Linked DNA regions of Homo sapiens: regions 2 and 3 are each linked to region 1. The links are contacts of gene promoters, found by promoter capture Hi-C in human tissues and cell types (Jung and others, 2019). All regions are on one chromosome and are shown on one strand. The core of a region is centred on a gene start or on the middle of the fragment in contact, and the rest is flanking DNA. Distances in the headings are between cores, read along the strand shown.

Region 1 (4,080 bases), core at 1,183-3,682:
AGATAGGAGATTGCCACAAGATACAGGTCATAAGGAACTTGCTGATAAAACAGCTTGTTGTAAAGAAGGCGTCCAAAACCCACCAAAACAAAGATGGCCACGAGAGTGATCTCTGGTCGTCCTCACTGCTCATTACATGCTAATTATAACACATTAGCATGCCAAAAGTCACTCCTACCAGCACAGGACAGTTTACAAATGCCATGGCAGTGTCAGGAAGTTACCATATATGGTCTAAAAAGGGGAAGAACCCTCAGTTCCGGGAGCTGCCAACCCCTTTCCAGGAAAATTCATGAATAACCTACCCCTTGTTTAGCATACAATCAGGAAATGACCAAACAGATGGACAGCCAGAAGCCACTGGGGCTGCTTTGCCTATGGAGTAGCTAGCTATTCTTTATTCCTTTACCTCTCTAATTAACTTGCTTTCACTTTACTCTATGAACTTGCCCTGAATTCTTTCTTGCAACTGAGATCCAAGAACCCTCTCTTGGGGTCTGGACCGGGACCGCTTTCTGGTAACAAAGGCTGTCCTATGCATTGTATGATGTTTTACAGCATCCCCGGCTTCTACCCACTAGATCCAGAGCAACCCCTTCCACCAAGTTGCGACAACCAAGACTACCTCCAGACATTATTCCCTTTTCCTGGAGGGCAAAACTGCTCCCAATTGATAATCACTGATGTATACAATTTTAGTATATACCCATCTGAATAAAGGGTGATATTTTTGGTGTAACATATGTAATTGAGTAGAAATCATGGGAATCTCATGCTTACTTTATCAGCCCTATAGAGAACACCTCAATCAAGCCAGCATTGTTCACCTAACTGGTAGCTAGCTGTATGTTACATTTGTATATGTTAACATAAAGCTGAAGAACAGAAAGAAAATGGATAGCTCTTTGTTCAATGCCTTAGAAACTTTGCCCCTATGGAGTGTTAATAGAATGCTGAGATATCTTTTTTGGTAAAGGGACTGGGAAAAATGCCAAAAAAAAATGCTAATGTGCGTTTCTCCACACTTTATACAGGTGAAATCTGATTAAAACAAGCACTGCTTGCTTCACACAGAAGTGGAATCACAAAAGGAAAACAGGTAACCTGAAGCCTGTGTGTAGGAGAAAGGAACACAGCTTCCTTATTTAGTTATTTCATTTGAGAATTGTATGTGGTATGTATATGAAGAGTTTGGGAAGGGGGATAAATTGTAGGTGTGTAAGTGCATCTCTGATGCCTTTCCTTTTGAAAAGCTTGATTGACTGCTTGATTGAGTTTGTAGAGCCACGTCTGGCTCCAGTCAACTTCTCCAAGGGACATTTCTACAGGTAGCTGTCAATAGAAGAGCCCCAAGTCCCTAAAAACTACTTGCCACAAGACAATGCTTCTAATTTGGGGATTTAAGGATAGTTCTAAGTAAACAAATTGCTTAATAAATATTTGTCAAATTGAAATGAAGGGATGTAACCTCAGAATTATGAAAAATGTGGTCTATTTTACAACCAATTTGGGAAGGACGCCATCAAATGATAAGCTGACCAGTAAAGGTAAAAGTAGGTAAAAGGAGCTAGCCACGGAGCAGGAAAAGCTGATAAGTGGCAGAAAATCTCGAAATTTACATTTCGAAAATGTTTGGGTGAATTTGTATAATACATCTTAATCCTTTTACACAATACTTTTATCTCATCTTTATCATAAATATTTACCTATGCATTGCCTTAGCGTCTTTCCTGTATTGAATGAAATGACAATTCCAGAGACGCAAAGCCCAGCCTCCAAGTTTTACAAACCTCAGAGTTTGAGCTACTTTGACGAATCCTCTAAATTCTTGGGTGTCAAAGGCATGTTACTAAATAGGTTGCTAAAGGCACCAAGGAAACCAAAAAAGGAAAGAGCTCTCCCTAAAGGTAAGTAGCACTTAATTGGGAACTTTGAGACGTCTGTCACTCTTTGTGACAATTGAGAAAAAGTACTTTGTACATTTTGTGCTTTGCAGGTGAGATGTGACTGACACCTTACTGTCTCTGTGTTTAGAGAGGGCTTTCGTGGGTGGAAGAAGAGGCTGGTTTGAAGAGAGTGCTTTTCCATTCTGAATATCATTAAAGGATTGTGGGGGGCCAAAAATGTAACCTAAAATGCCATCAATTGTCCATTTAAAATATCCTATTTGGCAAAGTGGCTTTGCACTCATCTGAAGAATAGATCATGGGTGGAGTTTGGAAAAGAAATGTTGTGTTTCGTCTCTGCTAAAAACAAAACAAGGTACCATCTCATGGCCTCTTGGTTCAAATCCGTTTTCTTGCTCCGCAGGGAGAGACTGCCCCTGGAGTATTCTGCTTTTAATAAGCTTCCCAATCAGCTCTCGAGTGCAAAGCGCTCTCCCTCCCTCGCCCAGCCTTCGTCCTCCTGGCCCGCTCCTCTCATCCCTCCCATTCTCCATTTCCCTTCCGTTCCCTCCCTGTCAGGGCGTAATTGAGTCAAAGGCAGGATCAGGTTCCCCGCCTTCCAGTCCAAAAATCCCGCCAAGAGAGCCCCAGAGCAGAGGAAAATCCAAAGTGGAGAGAGGGGAAGAAAGAGACCAGTGAGTCATCCGTCCAGAAGGCGGGGAGAGCAGCAGCGGCCCAAGCAGGAGCTGCAGCGAGCCGGGTACCTGGACTCAGCGGTAGCAACCTCGCCCCTTGCAACAAAGGCAGACTGAGCGCCAGAGAGGACGTTTCCAACTCAAAGTAAGTGAGAGGAACGTACGATTTCTCGGAGGGCTCTTCGATCGAGTTTGCCTTCACCCTGTGCCACTTTTCTGGGTGCCAGCAGATGATGGTGGTAGGGGTGAGAGAGGCTGCCTGGTGTCTTTGCTGATAGGACTGCTTTCAAAACTGACTTGCTCCAGAGGCCAAGGGAGGCATATTTTTGGGGTTTCAGGTTAGGTTAGTTCGGGTGTGCTTAGGTAAGTGAAAGGAAAGAAGTTTTTGTGATGTTAAGCATGTATTTGGACCGTGTTCCAGCTACCAGCTGGAGAGCAAGACAGGGTGGGCTGGAGAGTGCATCTTTGCTTTTTGTAAAACCTGGAGCTTTAGTAGGTGTGTCTCTGGCTGGGTAGGTGCAAAGAAAGTAAGGCAGCCTGAACAAGCAGCTCTCATTTTCCCAGCCTCTCTCTGATTCTCTGATTGCCCCAGAGCCTGTCAGCCCATGACTCTTAGCTGGCATTTCTAGGTAAGCTGTGGGGGCTTGTTCCTCCCAGTGCTAGCTGACATGAAACGTCTCTCACGGAACTACTGGCACCCGTCTTCCCACCTGACAGCCCAGGAATGGTTCCAGAAATGGTTAGGTCCAAAGTTTAGAAGACACACCTGGAGTCCCATCTCTCATTTGAATGCAAATTTAAAGAACTGCCCAGTACATAGACCCTTAAACTTTTAATTTGACCCACATAAATTTAGGATATATTTGTTACTAATTTACTAGATATTTAGAGTTTCTGAGTTGTTGTTTCTAATAAGTTAAGAAAACATTTTTTGAGAGGAATGTATTCAACTCCTTTCTTAATAGATGGAAAGTGAAACCTCCTCTCTCCTCTCCATACACACACACCCCTTTCTCCATGACATAATGTGACACAACACACACACACACACACACAGGAACACACACATGCAGTTTATATACACTCTAGTGTTAACTCACCCTTGTGTCTGTTAAGAGCTGCTTTGTAAGTTTGGGGACACATTCAGAAAATAGGAGGGGTAGGGGTGCTAAGAGGAGAAAATATTAAAGCTGCGGTCCTTGAGCATCTCTCATTTTAAGAGTTATCAGGCATTTTGCTTTAGCAGCTTGAGAAAGGGGTGATGTGTGTGTGTGCGTGTGCATGTGCGTGTGTGTGTGCTAGAGAGAGGGGTCTGGGAGGAGATTTAGAAATCACCAAAAAGAGCTCTGGACTAATAACATAATGAAACATTTTATGATCCTAGGCAAATGTGGAATTGATGAAACAGCAGGGCCCATTTTAGCCCCTTAATTATCCGGGAATGCATTGATATGTAGAAATATTGAAAGTTAATGACAATGAAACAAAAGAGAAGTCTC
Region 2 (4,235 bases), core at 436-2,935, 130 kb after region 1:
TATAATATAAATTTGAATAGTGAAGCACTTAAGATGGGAAGGCAATTTAGGAAGTTATTGGAATTTTCCAACTGAGAAATAATGAAGGCCATTTGGATCTGTCATAGATTTTGCCTCTGGCCACCCAATTATTTTCTCACTCGATTATTGCTTTTTCTCTGCTTCCATCACTGTTGCCATACTATTTTCTTTGTGATCCGAGGAGATCTGACTTAATAACACATTTTGCTTCATGCATTGGGGGCCTAATGTCATACAAAGTGGATACTGCTCAGAGAGTAAAGCCGATTTCGAGAGCTGACAAGTTGTCATAAACTTCCTGGTGTCCTGCTTCCATATACCTCCATTCCCATTAACATAAATCAGGTCACCCAGACTAGAAGACTCAGTCACAGTGTAAGCTTTGTGAACCATCCTTTCCTCAGTTATTTAAAATGATCTGATTTAATGGAAAATTCAGCATCAAGCCAGTCTTACTTCTGTCATGCTCACATTGCGCCCCAGGTATAAGAATTAGGGTCATGTGTTGTACCTGAGAGAGTTTCCAGCTTATTACCCTTTTCTACTCTGTCTTTAATTAACTTTCTTATATTCAGCCCAGTATTCTTTTTTTTTTGAGACGGAGTTTTGCTGTGTGCTGTGTCGCCAGGCTAGAGTGCAGAGGCACGATCTCGGCTCACTGCAACCTCCTACTCCCTGGTTCAAACTCAGCCCAGTATTCTAATCCTTATAAGACTGGACTCTGTTTTTTCTTTTAATTCCCCTCCCCTCAGGTACCATCATCAACTCAGGGGCAGGTTTGTTCTGAATCCCTTACCAGCTCTGGACAGACTTGTGTGATGCAAATTTTATCTCCAGGTTTTAAGGTATATCTCTGCTGTATTTTTGCCTGATCTTAGAATACCTGCTGCCATGTCCTCTGGGTTACATTTTACTTCTTGTTGGACTTCCTTGATATCAGCTTCTGGGCAACCTCTGGCTACTCCTCCTCTATCTTCTAGGTTCTGGGTTCTGTCTGCTCTGCTCGTCTTTCCTCCTACAGTACTGTCTGAAACTCCGTCTCCTCCCTCCTAACCTACCTTTCTTTTCCTTCCTTTTGGCAACTTTCATCCCTTTGTGGAGCTCCCTACTTCCAGATATAAGCTGTTCTGAATCTTCCCTAACTACTTGAATTTGTCTCCTTCATCTTCAGTTGTGTGCTGAGATAGGGAATTTATTTTAATGGAATGAAAATGGACAAAAGAGAGAGTAAAGAAAAACAGAAAAAGGGGATGTAAAAATTATTAATCTTGTCCACATACAACAATAGGAACCATTTACCTAAGAATCCTAGAGATACATAATACGAATTAATAGCTGGAGCTCAATGGAGACTGTCGGAGAACTAATTTGATAGAGAGAGGGGTGGGAGTTGCTAAAACCAAACTGCTAATTGTAACGTATGAGTTCTGAGAAGTTTTTGCTCCATGACCCGCTTTGGCAGTCTGGAGAACCCTACATACCCCTTCACAGAATAGTGTTTTTAAATGCTAGAGATAAATTATATTGGATTATAAATTATTTCAATGACATTGAAATAGAGTTGTCACCATATTAAGAAAACAAATTTTTGATAAGGAAGTATTTTGCTTTATTATTAACACATGAAATGACAGGGTCTAGAATTACTGAAAGTAGTGATACATACAGATGATACTTTTATATATATTTGTGAAAACTCTAACAAGATAATCTGCAACTTCTAGGTATGAAAAAAATAAAAAGTAACGTCGTGGTTTATTATCCACATTTGCAATGGAAGAAAATGTTGAAACTCAGTTTAGTTAGAGATGAGTGAAAATAAGCATGTTTTTCCTCCCTGCTTAAGTCATGTGCCCCAAATTCACTTCGGGTACCCATTAATTAAGAGCCCTGTTCTAATGAAGGCCACAAGCATAGGCAAGACTAGAGAGGTGTAATGCATCTATGTCAATTGCACACTGTAGTGGTCCTATTCACTACGTTTTCAGACAGGGGCCTGCCTTTTTTTCCCAAACACTAGCCTGTCTTCCATGCCAGGCCCCAAATATACCACTTTCTTTTCTCCGTAGTGCCGTTGGTTCCTCTGTCCTCTTTGCACTAGATTAACCATAGTGTTTTGTTCCAATTCTTTTTTTTTTTTTTTTTGAGATGGAGTTTCCCTCTGTCACTCAGGTTGGAGTACAATGGCACAATCTCAGCTCACTGCAACCTCCGCCTCCAGAGTTCAAGCGATTATCCTGCCTCAGCCTCCTGAGTAGCTGGGATTACAGGTGTGTGCCACCATACCTGGCTAAGTTTTGTACTTTTGTAGAGATGGAGTTTTGCCATGTTGGCCAGGCTGGTCTTGAACTCCTGACCTCAAGTCATCCACCTGCCTCGGCCTCCGAAAGTGCTGGGATTACAGACTCTTCCAATTCTTTAGCCAGCTTCCTTTATACTCATTATTCTGTGTTATATATTGATTTAGTTGTCAACAATTTTGTGCTCTAAAAAGGTATGTTAAAATCTCTGTTCAGGATAGATTTCATAACCCAATCCCCATCTGCCAATTCTTACACTTTACCATCTAATTGCTTAATTCTCAATTCTTAATTCTCAGTTGAACGTTTCTCATGTTCAACCTTTTTAATACATAGAAAGTTATGTACAATTATATATTATGCACATTTGCTGATGTGACAAATTCTGGTGGGTGGACATTAATAATAGTAAATAATAATATTTAAAAATACTTTTCCTTTCCTATAAATCAAATTCTATAATAAATTTCAAAAATGTAGAACGCTTTGAAAACAATATTAATAATAACTTTATTGAGTGCCTACTAGGTTCAAAATTCTGTTATAAGTACTTATTTTGGATTATCTCTTTAATTCTAACAACAATTCTGAGATATGAGGGCTAATAAGAGCTTCATTTTATAGTTAAGAAAACTAACATGCAGAGAGGTTATGTAACATGTCCGAAGACACTCACAACAGAAGAACATAGGAATTGTATCAATAATAACATGTTAGTTGCTTTTCCACCCACCGTTATGTGAAATAAAAATTATATAAACTCAAAGCTATATAAATATATACTATAGTAATTAGCCATATTTAAATCAAGACCACTGGACTCCATTCTGCTAGTCACGTATAAATTATTAGGTTGAATAACAGCTATAAAACACAGAATAAGAAAATGAATCTTCCAATGCCCTTAAGTAGGTAATATGTACAAATATCAACCTTGAATTGTATCTGTGCAGTAACTTCCACATTAATATGCCTTAATGCATACATTAATAGCAGCTATGAATTTTGCCATATTATATTTTCTGTTGTACTTTTTGTTTGTACTTTGTTATAAACATGTTTATGTTCTAGTTTACTTTGTTATAAACATGTTTATGTTCTAGTTTTTAAATATAAAGGAATTGTCTTCACTTCAATGATAAGGCAAAAATCATGAATTATTTTACAATAAAATAACAAAGATTATTTGTTTTATTAGGTTAATTCAAGGATTGTAGACTAGGGAAACAAGATAAAGAAAAACCATCTACAAATTATAAATGAGAATTAGATTCTTAGTGGAAGTTCTGCCCTTGTTTCTTTCTCTTTTTTTATTCATTTCTTTTTAATGGATCTATCAAAAAGAAAGTATATTAGGAAAAAGCTAATAACGCCTCAATATTTTCTTGAGGTAATGTTAACATTTTTATGCATATTCTTCCAAAATATTCCCCGTGTACACATATATTCAGTGGCCCTGAAGTATGCAGCCAACTCGGATTGGAGTGGGACATTCTGCGAGATCCAGCCAAGTCATCCCTGTTCACACTGATTCACGTCTTAAATATGAATTTATCTTCTCTGCTACCCTCATTATTCAAGGGCTCATAGAATTCCTGGTTTATTGACAATGCTTATAATATTGCCTCAAAAAACGGACACAATTCTCAGCAAAAAACAACAGGCACTACAATGCGTGAATCACCACAGGATTCAATGGTCCTAAAATATATACCATTGTCTGAAGCTGTTCATCCAATAGAAGCTTGTAATCACTTTTTAGAAGCTTAGTTAAGGTGTACACTTAGGGAATATACCTGTGGAGTTTTAGCACAGAATTCTAGGACATGTAAGGTGCCAGGTTTAGCAAATAAAATACAAGATGCCCAGTTGAATTTCAGTGTCAGATAAATAACGAATGGCTGTTTTAGTATA
Region 3 (4,052 bases), core at 860-3,359, 200 kb after region 1:
TATTAATCAGTTGGCTTTGAGCTAATCAAAAGGGAGATTGTCCTGGGTGGGCCTAACCTGATCAGGTAACCCTTTTAAAAGAAGGTCACACACTGGAATCTCTCTCCCACTCCTTTGGAAGAAAACAAATGTGGTGAACTGCCTCTGGTGAGCTCCATTTGGCTAAGACCTGAGGCAGCTTCTAGGACCTGAGGGCACTCCTTGGCTGACAGCAAGAAAACAGGGCTTCCGTCCTACAGCCACAAGAAATTGAATTCTGCCAGCAACATACCTGAGTTGGAAGAGCACCTTGAACTCCAGATGAAAATGCAGTCCTACCAACATGTCGATTTCAACCTTGTGAGGCCTTGAGCAGGGGACTCAGTTATGTGTGCCCTGCCTTCTGACCTACCAAAACTGTAAGATAATAGATGGGTGTTGTTATAAGCCAGTGAGTTTGGGCTAACTTTTTACACAGCAAGAGAAAACTAATGCAACCACTCTTCAGAAGTGGTCATTACAGACAAGGATATGTTGGTGTAAACTCAGGTTTCCTCAGGAAACAATATGTAGGGGCCCTTCAGAGAGAATCCACGGGAAGCCAATTCAGTGGAGTGGAACACAGCTTGTTAAGGATGCCCTGAGGAATTTGAACACAGATGCATTCTCTAGTTTGGCAAGGTGAGTCTCCCCTGAAGTGGAGCTTCTCATGCACGCAAAACTGGGAGAGGAACCATTTTCTTCCCACAATTTCTTGTGGGCTGCTCCTTTTGTAAAATACAATAAACATAAATGAATACAAAATATAAAACTTTTTTAAAAGGACATTCAAAATATAAACTCCAATTTTTTGTCATTCAACAGATACAGATTTACTCTGTGAAGTTGCCATGCCACATTCCAAATGCTTACTCTCCATGTTGGCACTTATCTCCTTTGAGACCAGTTACGAACAGCAGACCAACCCAATATGTGAATCGCATTCTAAGGAGCACTGCTTGGAGAGGCACCAAATTCCACCAATGCCCTCTCTGCTTCTATGCGTGGAATGTACATCTAGCATTCAGCAAAGATAACTTGCTATGTTCAGAGAGGACCATGCCTAATTATAGGTATTTTCTATTTTGGAGCTAGCTGGTCATTTTTTAGTTCAGTGTAGATACTCCCCACACTTGCAATCAAAAATATAAATGGTAGCTCCAACTCCACTTTTTAATAGCCATGTGATCCTATAAAGTTATTTATGCTTCCCAAACCTCCTTTTTTTCTTCTTTGTAAAATGGCAATAATATCAGTAACATATCTCTTATGGTTGTGAAGATTAATGAGGTAGCAGGTATGCATGTGTTTTGTAAGCTGTTAAGCACTTTATACATGCATGAATTAATAGTATTTCTATTCTTAGAGTTTCCCTCAATAACTCATTCCAGCATGCTCTGCACAGAGGTTGGGAAATGAGAAAAATCTGGCCATGCGCTCTAAACAACTTGATTTTACTAACAATTTCTGGGAATCACTGAGAACCGTGTGTGTGTAAATGGCAGATACTGAAAAGATCTCTTTGTTACATTAATAACAGGCTCCTCCGAAACTCTTGTTTATGTGTAGAATGTTTCTAATTAATAACATAAGCAGGAGTAATGGTCATTGAATTCCATCCTCTAATCATGGCCTCCATTCTGCAGCTATTCTCACGGGTATGTGAGGCAGGCAGTATTTGTATTCAAAGAACATCTGCAATACTCTGTCTAGTACCATCAGCAGGCATTGTGGCATCTTAACATTACAACTTCTAGAAATGGAACAGGGAGAGGAAGACAGCCACATCAGGCTTACAACAGGAATCCCAGCTCTGCCCGTCAGTAACAGGAATTTGCGTGGTCAGATTGCTCCGACAATGCATTCGTTTTAGACATAAATACAAAAACCATTTTAGATTATTACTCATAAGGTTAAAATTCTTCTCTGTGGTTACCTTCAACTTTTTACCTTTAAAAGAATCACTTTAAAGTAGATTTATTACATGATAGTCTGGTTTCACTTAGAGAATTAAAAGGCAGAGACAATATTATAACGTCTTAGCTGGTTTTTTTTTTTTTTTGCCACTGGATAGAAATTGAATTATGTCTTCAAATATATTTTCCAGTTTACTATCCCATTGCCTATTTCTTTTAATCTTTATGAGTGAACCTACAAAAACAAAATCCCTCAGAGAGGAGGCAAATCCCTGTGGCTAACACTCCATGAGTCACTTTGAATATTTGTTATGACCTCAGTATCATACTATATCCATGCCTTCTGTATTATCTAAACCTTGTCTTACAGAGTCATTAAGAAAATTGAGTATGTTTTGAGTGTGGGGGAGGCCTAGAAATAATATAATTTGTTTAATGAGAGAGAACATTCCTTAGACACAGTGGCTGCAATTTGTGAGACCTACAATTCATTAAACAGTCCAAGTGGGCACATTCTTGTGCAAAGACCAACGGAATGTTTCTTATTGGTCAGGACAGCTGAATTTCTGCTGCTGATAGTGACATCTTCCAGAATATATCTGCAAGGAAATGTCCTTCTAAATTACAACCTAGTAGCCAGTAAGTTCTGTAGTAAGACTAAATATAAACAGAATTCAGGAAAATGGTGAAATAGGAAAAAAATATTAATGATAAGAAAAAAGTGAGAGATGAAATTTTAAGGGTAAATTTCTGTGTATATTGTGTAGTGAGTGGGAAGAACGAAGAACCCAGAGATTCTCTAGATTCTCTCAGCTTCTCTGAACTCTATGTAGCTTTCTCAAATCAGAACTTCTCTTCCTGACCTAACTCAAATTATTTTATTTTGCTTAGAATTTCATTTCATTCAAGTGATAACTCTATTAAGAACAAATGGGACAATGATGACTAGAGATACAGTTCAACAAGCCCAGTTGGACAAGAGCTCTTAACTCTGTTGCCTAAAATACATTCATTGGAATCCTGGAATACTCTTTAAACACTATTGCTGTATTAATAATGATATTATAATCCAAGACATACTTCTAGCAAGCACTTTCTGTAAGTCTTAGAAAAGTCTTCTAAACAATACGTCTTGTCAATATGTGATTGCTGCTACTGTGAAATAAAGACTGGGCAGAGTGAGAAGCCAAGGATATGCAAAATTATAGCCACATTCTTATGTAGGCTACAACTCTAGTCTGCTATCCATGGAGCTGAATCACGGGATGAGAAAGGAGAAACCAGTAACAGGGCTTTTCAAGGTGATACCAAGAACACATCAAAATGGTAAGAAAAGCCAAAGCATAGATAGAAACAAGAATTTCAAGTAAGAAAGCTCTCTGGGGCTGGGCGTGATGGCTCACGGCTCTAATCCCAGCACTTTGGGAGGCCAAGGAGAGTGGATCACTTGAGGTCAGAAGTTCAAGACCATCTTGGCCAACATGGTGAAACCCTGTCTCTACTAAAAAAAAAAAAAAAAAAAAAAAAAATTAGCTGGCCATGGCGGCACATGCCTATAATCCCAGCTACTCAGGAGGCTACAAGAATCACTTGAACTGGGAAGGCAGAGGCTGCAGTGAGCTGAAATCGTGCCACTGTCCTCCAGCGTGGGTGACAGAGTGAGACTCTGTCTAAAAAAAAAAAAGGAAAGAAAGAAAAAAAAGAGAAAGAGAGAAAGATATCTGGTTTAGACGTAAATACCTTGAGAATTCAGCTAAAAATGTTATTTTAATTAAACTGTTCATTCTGATTCTCCTCCCTTCATTGCATCAATCTGTTTTCTGGTCCAAAGTATTGCAGGGCCAGAAGAGCAAGGCCTATGTGAGCACGGGCATATCAGAGGATCATTTGATTAAAGTTAGTGATTGTAGACAGAAACTTGGGGGTAATTATCTGCAAATAGATGCTTTGATCCAGACATACTTTTTCAAGTTTAAACCTTGTGAATGCTTCCTATTTCATTTTTGTTTTGATTCTGAAGATCCCAGTAATTCGCTGATGTATTAGTCCCAAATTCCTCTACCTTTGTTGACATTGCTCTCAAGTCTCTGACTCTTGGTTTGCAGTTATCTGCAACCC

Evidence for each region. Contacts are between HindIII fragments. The study calls those that stand out against the background at their distance.
Region 2: a contact is called between a fragment that was not itself captured here and the fragment with the promoter of PTN in region 1, in 3 of the 25 tissues and cell types used here (dorsolateral prefrontal cortex, liver and spleen).
Region 3: a fragment that was not itself captured here is called in contact with the fragment with the promoter of PTN in region 1 in 2 of the 25 tissues and cell types used here (mesenchymal stem cells and mesendoderm cells).

What each region holds. Positions count from the first base shown.
Region 1 is chr7:137,342,085-137,346,164 of GRCh38, reverse strand. It overlaps PTN (pleiotrophin), which reads left to right and starts at 2,432. Exons shown (of 5, transcript NM_002825.7): 1 at 2,432-2,726. RefSeq lists a cis regulatory region at 1,880-1,889 and promoters at 1,893-2,638, 474-2,638. The HindIII fragment of the contact is 6,839 bases long and covers 1-4,080 here.
Region 2 is chr7:137,212,375-137,216,609 of GRCh38, reverse strand. No RefSeq gene overlaps it. Among named protein-coding and RNA genes, the nearest start is that of PTN, 130 kb to the left of the region's middle. The HindIII fragment of the contact is 6,151 bases long and covers 1-4,235 here.
Region 3 is chr7:137,144,486-137,148,537 of GRCh38, reverse strand. The region is part of intron 1 of LOC349160 (a long non-coding RNA gene); the gene reads left to right. Among named protein-coding and RNA genes, the nearest start is that of PTN, 200 kb to the left of the region's middle. The HindIII fragment of the contact is 6,054 bases long and covers 1-4,052 here.